3 separate regions of the Homo sapiens genome follow, and all the other regions are linked to region 2. Evidence: promoter capture Hi-C in 16 types of primary human blood cells and fetal thymus (Javierre and others, 2016). All regions are on one chromosome and are shown on one strand. Each heading gives the region's core, a stretch centred on a gene start or on the middle of the fragment in contact. The rest is flanking DNA. Distances are from core to core; before and after follow the strand shown.

Region 1 (4,110 bases), core at 1,146-3,645, 670 kb after region 2:
AGAGTTAGCTGATAAGGAAACTTTATTTAAATGCATGTCTTAAATGCTCATAAAGATGTTAAATGGAATTCGTGTTATGAATCTGTGCTGGCCATGGACGAATATGAATGTCACATTTGAATTCTTGATCTCTAATGAGCTAGTGTCTTATGGTCTTGATCCTCCAATGTCTAATTTTCTTTCCGACACATTTACCAAATTGCTTGAGCCTGGCTGTCCAACCAGACTTTGAGCCTGCATCTTCTTGCATCTAATGAAAAACAAAAAGCTAACATCTTTACGTACTGTAACTGCTCAGAGCTTTAAAAGTATCTTTAACAATTGTCTTAAAACCAGAGAATCTTAAGGTCTAACTGTGGAATATAAATAGCTGAAAACTAATGTACTGTACATAAATTCCAGAGGACTCTGCTTAAACAAAGCAGTATATAATAACTTTATTGCATATAGATTTAGTTTTGTAACTTAGCTTTATTTTTCTTTTCCTGGGAATGGAATAACTATCTCACTTCCAGATATCCACATAAATGCTCCTTGTGGCCTTTTTTATAACTAAGGGGGTAGAAGTAGTTTTAATTCAACATCAAAACTTAAGATGGGCCTGTATGAGACAGGAAAAACCAACAGGTTTATCTGAAGGACCCCAGGTAAGATGTTAATCTCCCAGCCCACCTCAACCCAGAGGCTACTCTTGACTTAGACCTATACTGAAAGATCTCTGTCACATCCAACTGGAAATTCCAGGAACCAAAAAGAGCATCCCTATGGGCTTGGACCACTTACAGTGTGATAAGGCCTACTATACATTAGGAAGTGGCAGTTCTTTACTCGTCCCCTTTCATCGGTGCCTGGTACTCTGGCAAATGATGATGGGGTGGGAGACTTTCCATTAAATCAATCAGGAATGAGTCAATCAGCCTTTAGGTCTTTAGTCCGGGGGACTTGGGGCTGAGAGAGTATAAATAACCCTGGGCTGTCCAGCCTTAATAGACTTCTCTTACATTTTCGTCCTGTAGCACGCTGCCTGCCAAAGTAGTCCTGGCAGCTGGACCATCTCTGTAGGATCGTAAAAAAATAGAAAAAAAGAAAAAAAAAAGAAAGAAAGAGGGAAAAAGAGCTGGTGGTTTGATCATTTCTGCCATGATGTTTACAAGATGGCGACCACCAAAGTCAAACGACTAACCTATCTATGAACAACAGTAGTTTCTCAGGGTCACTGTCCTTGAACCCAACAGTCCCTTATGAGCGTCACTGCCCACCAAAGGTCAATGTCAAGAGAGGAAGAGAGGGAGGAGGGGTAGGACTGCAGGGGCCACTCCAAACTCGCTTAGGTAGAAACTATTGGTGCTTGACTCTCACTAGGCTAAACTCAAGATTTGACCAAATCGAGTGATAGGGATCCTGGTGGGAGGAGAGAGGGCACATCTCCAGAAAAATGAAAAGCAATACAACTTTACCATAAAGCCTTTAAAACCAGTAACGTGCTGCTCAAGGACCAAGAGCAATTGCAGCAGACCCAGCAGCAGCAGCAGCAGCACAAACATTGCTGCCTTTGTCCCCACACAGCCTCTAAGCGTGCTGACATCAGATTGTTAAGGGCATTTTTATACTCAGAACTGTCCCATCCCCAGGTCCCCAAACTTATGGACACTGCCTTAGCCTCTTGGAAATCAGGTAGACCATATTCTAAGTTAGACTCTTCCCCTCCCTCCCACACTTCCCACCCCCAGGCAAGGCTGACTTCTCTGAATCAGAAAAGCTATTAAAGTTTGTGTGTTGTGTCCATTTTGCAAACCCAACTAAGCCAGGACCCCAATGCGACAAGTAGTTCATGAGTATTCCTAGCAAATTTCTCTCTTTCTTCAGTTCAGTAGATTTCCTTTTTTCTTTTCTTTTTTTTTTTTTTTTTTTTTGGCTGTGACCTCTTCAAACCGTGGTACCCCCCCTTTTCTCCCCACGATGATATCTATATATGTATCTACAATACATATATCTACACATACAGAAAGAAGCAGTTCTCACAATGTTGCTAGTTTTTTGCTTCTCTTTCCCCCACCCTACTCCCTCCAATTCCCCCTTAAACTTCCAAAGCTTCGTCTTGTGTTTGCTGCAGAGTGATTCGGGGGCTGACCTAGACCAGTTTGCATGATTCTTCTCTTGTGATTTGGTTGCACTTTAGACATTTTTGTGCCATTATATTTGCATTATGTATTTATAATTTAAATGATATTTAGGTTTTTGGCTGAGTACTGGAATAAACAGTGAGCATATCTGGTATATGTCATTATTTATTGTTAAATTACATTTTTAAGCTCCATGTGCATATAAAGGTTATGAAACATATCATGGTAATGACAGATGCAAGTTATTTTATTTGCTTATTTTTATAATTAAAGATGCCATAGCATAATATGAAGCCTTTGGTGAATTCCTTCTAAGATAAAAATAATAATAAAGTGTTACGTTTTATTGGTTTCCCCCCATGTCTTTCATTGTTATTCTTGAAAAACTTATTGAATGAGAATTTCTGAACATGAACCACAGACTGGTTGGTTTCTTTAAAGTCACTAATTGTCAATATGTAAATTTGACATATTGTTTAAGTCAACATTTCCTAAGTTTTTTAAAAAACATTGAGTGACTCCCATTATTCTCACTGATGGTATCCCAAACTCCTTACAAAGTTGGAAGAAGCTTTAAGGTCTACAGGCTGCTCAACTGTAAGACCCAACTTTCTTTCTGTTCAGTGACCTCTACGCTCCCACCACATAGGCAGTTCTGGGAATGATTGGGATCTGTCCCTTCCAGGTCTTTTATTTATGCTATTGTCTCTTTTTGGAAGATTTTTTTTCTCCATCCTTCACTCAGACTGAAAGCATGATGGGGAGAAGCGCGTGCTTGGTCACCAGTGTGTTCCCAACGCTAAAATAGCATCTTCAATACTTTAAATGAATGATTTAGAAAGAGTTGGAGGAGGGGGAAAAAGACAACTGAATCAGTGTGACAAGGAAGGCAGATAGCTCTGCAGTTAAAACAAAAGATTTGAATTCAGTCTCTGTCACTCATTAACCACATGATGTCAGAAGAGTTTCTTAATCTCAAAACACATCAATTTCTCCCTCCGTAAAATGGGGATTGTGACAGTCATCTCACAGAGCTGCTACAGGGAAATAAAACAAGTGAACTGCTTACAATATTCCCAATATACGATTATGCTCAACGAGGGTCAGCTGTTATCATACAAGTTGCGACAATGAGAGCAAAAGCTCCCTATCTCAGAAAATGGTCAAAGACTTCACAACAGAATGACAGCTGGGTCTTGAAGGATGCTTATGAGTTTGGTCACATAAAAAGGGGAGCTTCGGTGGTATAATTTTTTTCAAGAGACACCTTATATAAGAGACACCTTTAATTGTGAAGGTTATCTTCACAATTAAATATTAGTGAATTTTTCCCATATTTTAAATTCAAATGGGGGCATTTTTCTCAACATCATTCATTTCTAGCTCCAAATTGCATTTTCCCAAGTTCAGTTATGCCCAAAGCAACTAATAAATAGTACATGAATTGTCACTTAAGGGCCAAATACGTACTGCACTTGCTTTACTCTGACCTGGCCAAGGAAAAAGAGCACATTTCTTTTATTATTATCCTTCATCCATAGTCTCCTATAAATATTTATTTATACAGAGAGACTGCATGCTGCACTGTAGTATAGTGTTTAAAAAAAAAAAAACAGACCTGGGATTTGTATAAACTGAGTTTAAACCTTAGTTCCTCTACCATTTCTGTGGCCTTGGGCCAAGTGTCTCATATCTTCACACTTTAGTTTTTTTCATTTATGAAAATGCCCCTACAAAATAGGGACAAATAGTAGGCCTTAGTTCCAAAAGTAACTGAGAATTCAATGTGTTACATATAAAGGACTTAAAATAGTGTCTACCATATAGCAAGTACCCAAAGAATAGAATTCCTCGAGCCCTCAATACATGTAACTCTCACCATTTACATTAAAGTTATTCCCATCACTTAGATTCTACTCTCACCCTCACTGTGAGTATTGAGGTACCATTTTGGATGAAGAATGTTTTTCTGACTTTTTCCTTTTGT
Region 2 (4,092 bases), core at 757-3,256:
TCATTGGGCTTTGTTTTCAAAACCTATAAAAGGAACACGTTTCTTTTAAATCTAAAACAATATTTGATAAACCTACACTGTACTATATACCCTCTGCTCCTAGTCCAAAGTTCTAGATAGTCAACTGTTAACACAATAACTGAGTAAAATTGAATGCGTATTTTTAAGTAATTTTTTTAGGAAAACTTATCTGAGTATTTCTTAGTATACTTGTTTTTTTAGATTTTTTGGTTGATATACGTGTACATATTTTCAGGATACATTAGTAGGGTGTCTACACTTAACATTCATCAATTGTACATTTCAAAGTAGCTGGAAAAAAATAACTTGAGTGTTCCTCGCATTAAAAAAAGACAATATTTAAGATGATAGGTATCTCAGTTACCCCAATTTGATTACATAAACTTACCAGTATACTTTTATTGTTATATTAATTCACTATATTTATTTACATAAGAAAGTTAAAAATGCATCAAACTTAAGCTCCATTGTCATCTCCAATCTAACCTGCTTCTCTCTTACTTTCTTTTCTTGGTTAAGGAACCCATAAAACTTCATCTACACAAATCAGAAACATGGAAGACAGCATCAACTCTGCCCTTGACCTCATCCCTGTTCCCTTATCCAATCAAAAAAGAACTTCTTATAGCCCTCCTTTAATCTATGTTTCTACTACTCCAGTCTCTCTGAGGTTTCATATCTTCTAACTTGGACAGTACAGTAGCCTTCTTTTATCCAACCTTCAAAATCATGCAGTTCTCCCCCCTAAAACACAAATTTTACCTTGTTACTTTCATTTAAGTTATTTTACCAAGTCATTTGCCTTTAAGATATCCACACCATGCCAGGCACAGTGGCTCATGCCTGTAATCCCAGCACTTTGGGAGGCTGAGGCAGGCAGATTACTTGAGGCCAGGAGTTTGAGACTAGCCTGGCCAACATTGTGAAACTCTGTCTCTACAAAAAATTAAAAAATTACCTGGGCATGGTGGCACACGTCTGTAGTCCCAGCTACTCAGGAGGCTGAGGCAAGAGAATTACTTGAACCCAGGAGGCAGATGTTGCAGTGAGCCGAGATCATGCCCCTGCTCTTCAGCCTGGGCCATGTAGCAAGACCTTGTCTCAAACAACAACAGATAACCACAGCATAGAATATCCAATGCAGCCTGTCTTTAATGTCCTCTCATACCATGCTTTCCTATATACCTCATGATATAACTACACTAACCTACTTTCTGTGATCAGACCTACCAAACTCAGGTATGCTTAGACTCGCTGCTTCTCCCTGGAATGTTAATTCTCTGCTTGGCAAACCCTTGTACCTTTGTTAAGACCTTGATTAAAAGTTACCTCTCTGACGCCTTCTCCATTCCAACAAGCATTAGAAGCCTCCTCTTCATTCCCCTGGGCAATTTCACCTACTGCCTTCCTCTTTGGTGCCATGTATCACATTAATTTATTTTTCTAATTTTTTTCCAGAATTTCATTTTTCATGTATATGTGGCAATGTATTTTATTTTTAAACTTTTAATTTTTAATTGTTGTGGGTACAGAGTAGGTATATATATTCAGAGGATACATGAGATGTTTTGATACAGACATCACATAATTTATGACCATCCATTTAGAAGCCTGTTTTGCTTGCTCACAAAGCTTGGTTTTCTCAGGGCAGGGCTGTGTACACCTACATATCTACATGTCCCTAGAATAATACCTCTAACACAGCCAGTATGCGATGAGTACATGTTGAACAAAGACGTTAATGGATAAGTAAATAGAACCTACATGGCATCAGTCCACATTCGTTTTTTACTTTTCTAAGTTTTTTCCCCTCTGAAATCTGTAAGTGTGCTTAATCTCTGCCTCTGCTTTTTTGTTATTGTTTCTGTTTAGAGGAGTCACAGAGGGATCCTAGTGAAGAGGATTATAACTTTGCCTGTTTTGTGATGCGGAGGTGATGTCATGTTGTTCTACCATTTTATCATTGTTCCTTCTGAGCCTGAGTGTTCTTTCTCTTGAAGATTCAAGTGAACCAGGGAAGGAGAATGACATCAGACTGGGCTTGTGCCTGATAATTCATTTCTGAAGGTGCAATATTAAGTGTCACAGTGTCCAGCTGGTGATATTTTCAGCATAGAAACCTGTTAGACACGGCAGCATTAAGGAGATGGAATGAATTGATTTATTTCTCTTCTGAATTGCTTGGCAGTGCTTCAAGATTGACGCATCAGATTTGCACAATGTGCCACTTTAGGAGATTATTTCTTCCTTCCTTCAGCCAGACAGAAGACTGCAGTAGGTAATGATAGCTTAAACTTGGGAAATGTCCTTCTTCAGAGACAGCGTCACGGACATTTTGGAGAGGATCAGATTACTCTACAGCTGCTTTCCCTGGTGGACCTGAGGAGGCACACCCCTGAGCCAGGACTTTAAGGGAGAGGGTAGAACAACCTAGAAGCTCAGAAGGTCACTCCAACTATTATCTTCCCTTCTGTGACTTATTGACATACACTTTGATATCAAGGCACTGATGCTGATAACGTGAGAGAAAGGAATAGATTAATTATGGGATGAGGAGTATTTTAAATGCTAAAGGCTTTGTCTAAAATAATTCACATTTTTCCATCCAGTGGTTCCTCTCTTTGAATCCTGTTAGAATGACAGTAGATCTTTTAATTCTTTCCCCACTTTAGGCATGACTTTGAAGAACCTGAAGATGTGAAAATGAAATGGATACTGTGCTCCTTTTGGCTAGGATTGGGGAGGGCCCACTAACTGATCTCTACTACCCAGCCCCTTTCAACATCAAAGCTACTTTTTTTTTTTTTTTGAGACAAAGTCTGGCCCTGTCGCCAGGCTGGAGTGCAGTGGTGCAGTCTCAGCTCACTGCAACCTCTGCCTCCTGGATTCAAGGGATTCCCCTGCCTCAGCCTCCCGAGCAGCTGGGACTACAGGTGCATGCCACCATGCCTGGCTAATTTTTTGTATTTTAGTAGAGACGGGATTTCACTTTGTTGGCCAGGATGGTCTCAATCCAAAGCTACTTTTAGCAGGATTGAACTCTGAGGTCATCCAGTGGCCAGTTGTGATGCTGTCACTTTTAAAACTGGAATGAGTTACTGTTCGGATGGTGGCTTTGGTCTGAGGCCTGTGATTCCTGTTTTGCCATTTCTTGGCTGTGTGTTTGAGGACCTCTTAATCCCTAGCCTCCTCATTTGTAAAATAATCCTTCCCATGGACCTTGTGCATTTCATGGAAATGCAGTAGTATGGGGTCTGGAAGATTCTTTGTAGGCATTCTACCTTTCCCTATGTGTTCCAAGTGACCCTCATCTGGTGCATTCTTCATTTGATTAAAGCAAGGAAGGAAGCTTTAGCAGAGGGCTGTTATCTCTTGATTGGCCGCTGCCATCCCCTGACCCACCGTCTTCCCTTTTATGCACAGTGATGGCAGAGACAGCAACAGACAGCTTGCCCAAACACACTAAGCTGAATTAAAGCACCACCCAAGTAGAGGTCTATTCTATTAAGAAGGGATCATCCAGAAATTGAGGTCACTATAACACAAGGGAAAGATTCAAGGATCCCAAAGTGTCTGCTAGGAAGTGGCCAATGAGGGCTTCAAAGAGTGTTTAAGTTTTAGTCCATCCCCAAATACAGTTCTTCCTTGGACAAAAACATCTCAGCCATGCTCTGGCTGAATTGGGAGGTGACAGCTGCCTAGCTTTGCGCTTCCTACCTGATATGTTAACTCACGCACCATTATACTGTGGTTGGGAAGTATGGTGGATGGTAGATGGAAGACGAGAATGGGAGTGAGATATTTACACAGTTCTGAATTTTGGGGGTGAGGGCTGTGCATTCTTCCTGTCAAAGTTGTATTAATATCAGTAGCATAATAATGATTAAAAGCATACTCTTTGGAGTTAGACTTCCTGGCTTAGAATTGTGACTATACTAGTTAATCAGTTGTCTCTTTTGGCAAATTATTTGACTTTTTTCATATCAGTTTTCCAAGCTGTAAAATGAAAATAGTAATAGTATTTAACTCATTGTTTTAAGTTAAATGAAATAATACGTATGAAGTGCTTAG
Region 3 (4,471 bases), core at 658-3,157, 530 kb before region 2:
AATTAAATAATTTCGCTGAAGCTGCATGGGTTGATTTCAAGTGTCCGCTTTCAGACCACTCAGGGCATCACTAGTACCTTTCATCAAGGTAGCAGCAGTACATAAAGCAAACAATTGATTGCACCAGACAAGCATGGACCCATATTGTGATTTGCTAATTGTTGTGATTTGCTAATGTCCTGCTATTGGATTTGTTTCATAGAGATAATTATACTTATTTGTTGGAGCCCTCAAACTACTTTGTAAACAAATAAACAACACTTGTTCAGTGTTTATAATTCTGCTTTTTGCCTTCAACTGTTCTCCTCTAGAGTCTGAATCTCACAAGTTAGACTCTTGGCACCACCAGCTTAGATTATTACCAAGTCTATAGTCCCAAATGGAAATGTCTCCTCCCAAAGGGGACAACCAGTTGCATGTGACGTTCTTCACAATGTCTAAAATAAGGTGGTGTCTTGGTCTATTTGGGCTGCTATAAAAAAAAGTCTTAGACAGGGTCATTTGCAAATAACAAAAGTTTATTTCTTGGCCAGGTGTGGTGGCTTGCACCTGTAATTCTTGCACTTTGGGAGGCCAAGGCAGGAGGATCACTTGAGTCCAGGAGTTCGAGACCAGCCTGGGCAACAAGCAAAACCCATCTCTACAAAAAATACAAAAGTTAGCCAGGCATCATGGCCCATGCCTGTAGTTCCAGCTACTCAGGAGGCTGAGGTGGGAGGATTGCTTGAGCTCAGGAAGTCGAGGCTGCGGTGAGCCATGATGGCATCACTGCACTCCAGCCTTTCTGACAGTGTGAGACCTTGTCTCAAAAAAAAAAATTTTTTGTTTGCAGTTCTAAAGGCTGAGCAGTCTAAGATCAAAGTGCCAGCCGATTTGGCGTCTGATGAAGGCCTGTTCCTCACAGACAGCACCTTCTTGTTGTGTCTTCACATGGTTCAAGAGGTGAACACACTCCCTCAAGCCTCCATTTTTTTTTTTTTTTTTTTTTTTTTGAGACGGAGTCTCGCTCTGTTGCCCAGGCTGTAGTGGAGTGCAGTGGCGCGATCTCAGCTCACTGTAAGCTCTGCCTCCTGGGTTCAGGCCATTCTCCTGCCTCAGCCTCCTGAGTAGCTGGGACTACAGGTGCCTGCCACCATGCCCAGCTAATTTTTTTGTATTTTTTAGTAGAGACGGGGTTTCACCATATTAGCCAGGATGGTCTCGATCTCCTGACCTCGTGATCCACCCACCTCAGCCTCCCAAAGTGATGGGATTACAGGCATGAGCCACCGCGCCTGGCCCTCAAGCCTCTTTTTTAAGGGCACTAATCCCATTCATGAGGGCTCCACCCTCGTGACCTCATCAGTGCATAAGGCCCCACCTCTTAATACTATTACATTGGGGATTAGGTTTCAACATACGAATTTTGGGGCCACACAAACATTCAGACCATAGCATTGGGTCTCTGAGCTCCCATTCTCAAATCTACACTTGATTGACATGGTTTATGCTGAAGGGTATGCCTATCTCTCTTCCTGTCTCATTCTTCACTTTTAACCCTTGACATCTGGGTCCCAGTTCTGACACCGTATTATAGCAGCTCTTCTGGAGGACACCAGTGGTGCTTTATAAATCAATCTATTCTTAACTCTTAATTATCTTGAATTTTGGCTGAATCTGACACTATTGATTCTTCCTCCTTTCCCACAGCCCTTACACACCTCTCGCTACTCCCTGTCTCTGTGAAACTCTATCCTCCTTTGGCTCTCATTACATTTCACTCTTTCAGTTTTCCCACTATTATTCTGACTGTTCCCTCAGTCCCCTGAACTGATTCTTTGCTCTTCCTTCTTGGTCTGAGGATGCTTGTTTCATTCTCATGACTTCAGTTGTCATTGCTACTCTATTGACCCTAAAATGTATAAGTTGTGTTTCAAATGTGTAGATACATTCTATTCCATCACAGAGCAACATATTGAATACCCACCTTTAGACACTCCTGTATCTCCAAGTCAGTTTTCCTATCCAAACCTTCATTTTTATCTTTAAGAGTCTGTGGGTTGTTTCACTTGCAATGTTCAAGGCACCCCAATCCAATATGACTGTACTCATTACCTTCTTCTCCCAAAAAGATCCAGTCTCTTCCTTTCCACTGTTAGTGGCATCATCATTTTGCAAGTTACTCAGATTTAATGATGTAAAACATCCTATGACATAAGCCTACATTTCCTTCACAATTTCTTGTATCCACAGCTTCCCCAACCCATTTCCATTTGTTGATTTTCAGGCCTTCTGACCACTTGCCCAAATTGCTGTAACTTTCATGCTGCCCTAGCAGATTGTTGCCTCTTTTTCTCTCATCTACCTAAACACATTGCTATGATTTCAACATGTCCCCCAGAATCCATGTGTTGGAAACTTAATCCCCAGTGCAACAGTAGTGGGAGGTGAGACCTAATGGGGATGCTTAGGTCATAAGGTGCTGCCCTTATGAGTGGATTAGTGCCATTATGAAAGAGGCTTATAGAAGTGGGTTTGCTCTGCTGAGTGCCTCCTCTTCCACCTTCTCCCACATAATGATGCAGCAGAAAGGCTCTCCCCAGGTGCTGGTACCTTAATCTTGGACTTCCCAGCCTCCAAAACTGTGAGACAACAAATTTCTCTTCATTATAAAGTACCGTTTCTCAGGTATTCTGTTATAGACTGAGACACACATGTTACACCATGTCTATTCCCCAGCAAAGGACATTTAGGAGATCTGTATGTATTATTGCTTTATTATTTCATGCCAAAGTGTCACACTCTGCTGTTTAAGACCATTTCCAACATTATTGGACAATGTTGACAATGTTGTCAATGTTGTCAACCTTTCCAACCTTATTTACCACTCTCCCTCAACTTGCATCATCTGACTTAGTCAAGTGGCCTCACTGCTCCACTCACTCTCCATGCTCAGTTCTACCTCCATGTTGTGTAATGACATCACTTGCACCTAGAGTGTCCCTTCACTGTTGTCCACCTAGTCAAATTCTAATCATCATCTAAGGTTTTGTTCACATGTCGCTTCTCCTGTGAAAACTTTACTGATTATTCCCACTCTATTTATTGTTGGTACTGTGCAATTAATCACTAATTATTCTCTCGCTTATGTTTGGTAGTTTTATCTCTCATTTTAATTATAAATTCCTTGTGGGAGGGGTCCTTTCATCTAGTTCTCGCACTCCCCATGGAGCTCAGCATAGTTTTAGAAAATAATATGTGTTCAATAAATCTTTCATTGATTTACTACTCCTTAATTTAACAAACACTCATTTGACTGAATAAATTGTTGGGTGAATAAATCGAAGTTTGGCTGATTGATTGGTTCTGTTTATTGAATCCATTCAATATTGTGCTCAGTTTTCTGCACTCTAATTTGGGCAGTGAGGGATGCTTAATATTTTATTTCCTTCCACCTCTAAACAATTCCTAGAATGGACTCCCATAAATAAATTTTTGGGATCAAAATATGTCTTCAGTCACTTCCAGGTGCAATTTTAGGGAGCAGAATTTTAGTATCTGTGTGTTAAGGACAGAGCAAGCCAAATGATTTTTGCATTGAAACATCGAAGAGACAGTATAAATCTTAATGAAAAGGTAACTTAAACTCTGGCTCTCTTCCTTGAAGTGACATATTAAACACCAGATCATTTTTTCTCTCTTTTTTTAAATTTTTATTTATTTATTTTTTTGAGATGGAGTCTCATTCTGTTGCCCAGGCTGGAGTGCAGTGGCGTGATCTTGGCTCACTGAAAGCTCCGCCTCCTGGGTTCACGCCATTCTCCTGCCTCAGCCTCCTGAGTAGCTGGGACTACAGGCATCTGCCACCACACCTGGCTAATTGTTTGTATTTTTAGTAGAGACGGGGTTTCACCACATGAGCCAGGATGGTCTTGATTTCCTGACCTTGTGATCTGCCCACCTCGGCCTCCCAAAGTGCTGGGATTACAGGCGTCAGCCACCGTATCTGGCCTTTTCTCTTTATTTTTTAAGAGAAGAATACTATTTCTGAAACCAGAACAAGTGGTACTGCCAATCTGGGTTCTACTTAGTACCCAATGGATTTTAGAGAGTAAGTGAAAAATGCAGTAACACTGGTGTTACTACTTTGCCTTCAAGAGCTTTGTGTCTTCCAAAATCACGCTGTCCTTTATCCAACAAAGTCTATGTGTTGCTAAATGTTCTCACCTTATTGTTTAATCACTCACATTGCAATATCAACTTTCTTATGGGCTGAATTATTTCCCTCTAAATCCACATGCTGAAGTATTATCCCCAGTATACCTCAGAATGTGACTATATTTGGAGATAGGGACTTTACAATGGTGATTAAGTTAAAATTAGGTCTTTAGAGTGGGCCCCAATTAATTCTGACTATTCTTATAAGAAGAGGAAATTTGGACACCCAGAGAGACACTAGGGATGTGTGTGTACAGAGAAAAGACCCTGTTAA

The links. The method cuts DNA at HindIII sites, captures the fragments that hold promoters and counts their contacts. A CHiCAGO score of 5 or more calls a contact.
Region 1: a contact is called between a fragment that was not itself captured here and the fragment with the promoter of ADAM7-AS2 in region 2, in 1 of 17 cell types (total B cells). The highest score is 5.9, in total B cells.
Region 3: a fragment that was not itself captured here is called in contact with the fragment with the promoter of ADAM7-AS2 in region 2 in 1 of 17 cell types (megakaryocytes); the score reaches 5.4 in megakaryocytes.

What each region holds. Positions count from the first base shown.
Region 1 is chr8:23,840,288-23,844,397 of GRCh38, reverse strand. It overlaps STC1 (stanniocalcin 1), which reads left to right. Exons shown (of 4, transcript NM_003155.3): 4 at 1-2,469. Among named protein-coding and RNA genes, the nearest start is that of STC1, 12 kb to the left of the region's middle. The HindIII fragment of the contact is 603 bases long and covers 2,094-2,696 here.
Region 2 is chr8:24,512,782-24,516,873 of GRCh38, reverse strand. It overlaps ADAM7-AS2 (ADAM7 antisense RNA 2), which reads left to right and starts at 2,006. Exons shown (of 5, transcript NR_125809.1): 1 at 2,006-2,088; 2 at 2,210-2,299. The region is part of intron 1 of ADAM7-AS1 (ADAM7, ADAMDEC1 and ADAM28 antisense RNA 1); the gene reads left to right. The HindIII fragment of the contact is 1,717 bases long and covers 1,656-3,372 here.
Region 3 is chr8:25,043,238-25,047,708 of GRCh38, reverse strand. No RefSeq gene overlaps it. Among named protein-coding and RNA genes, the nearest start is that of NEFL, 89 kb to the right of the region's middle. The HindIII fragment of the contact is 5,359 bases long and covers 1-4,471 here.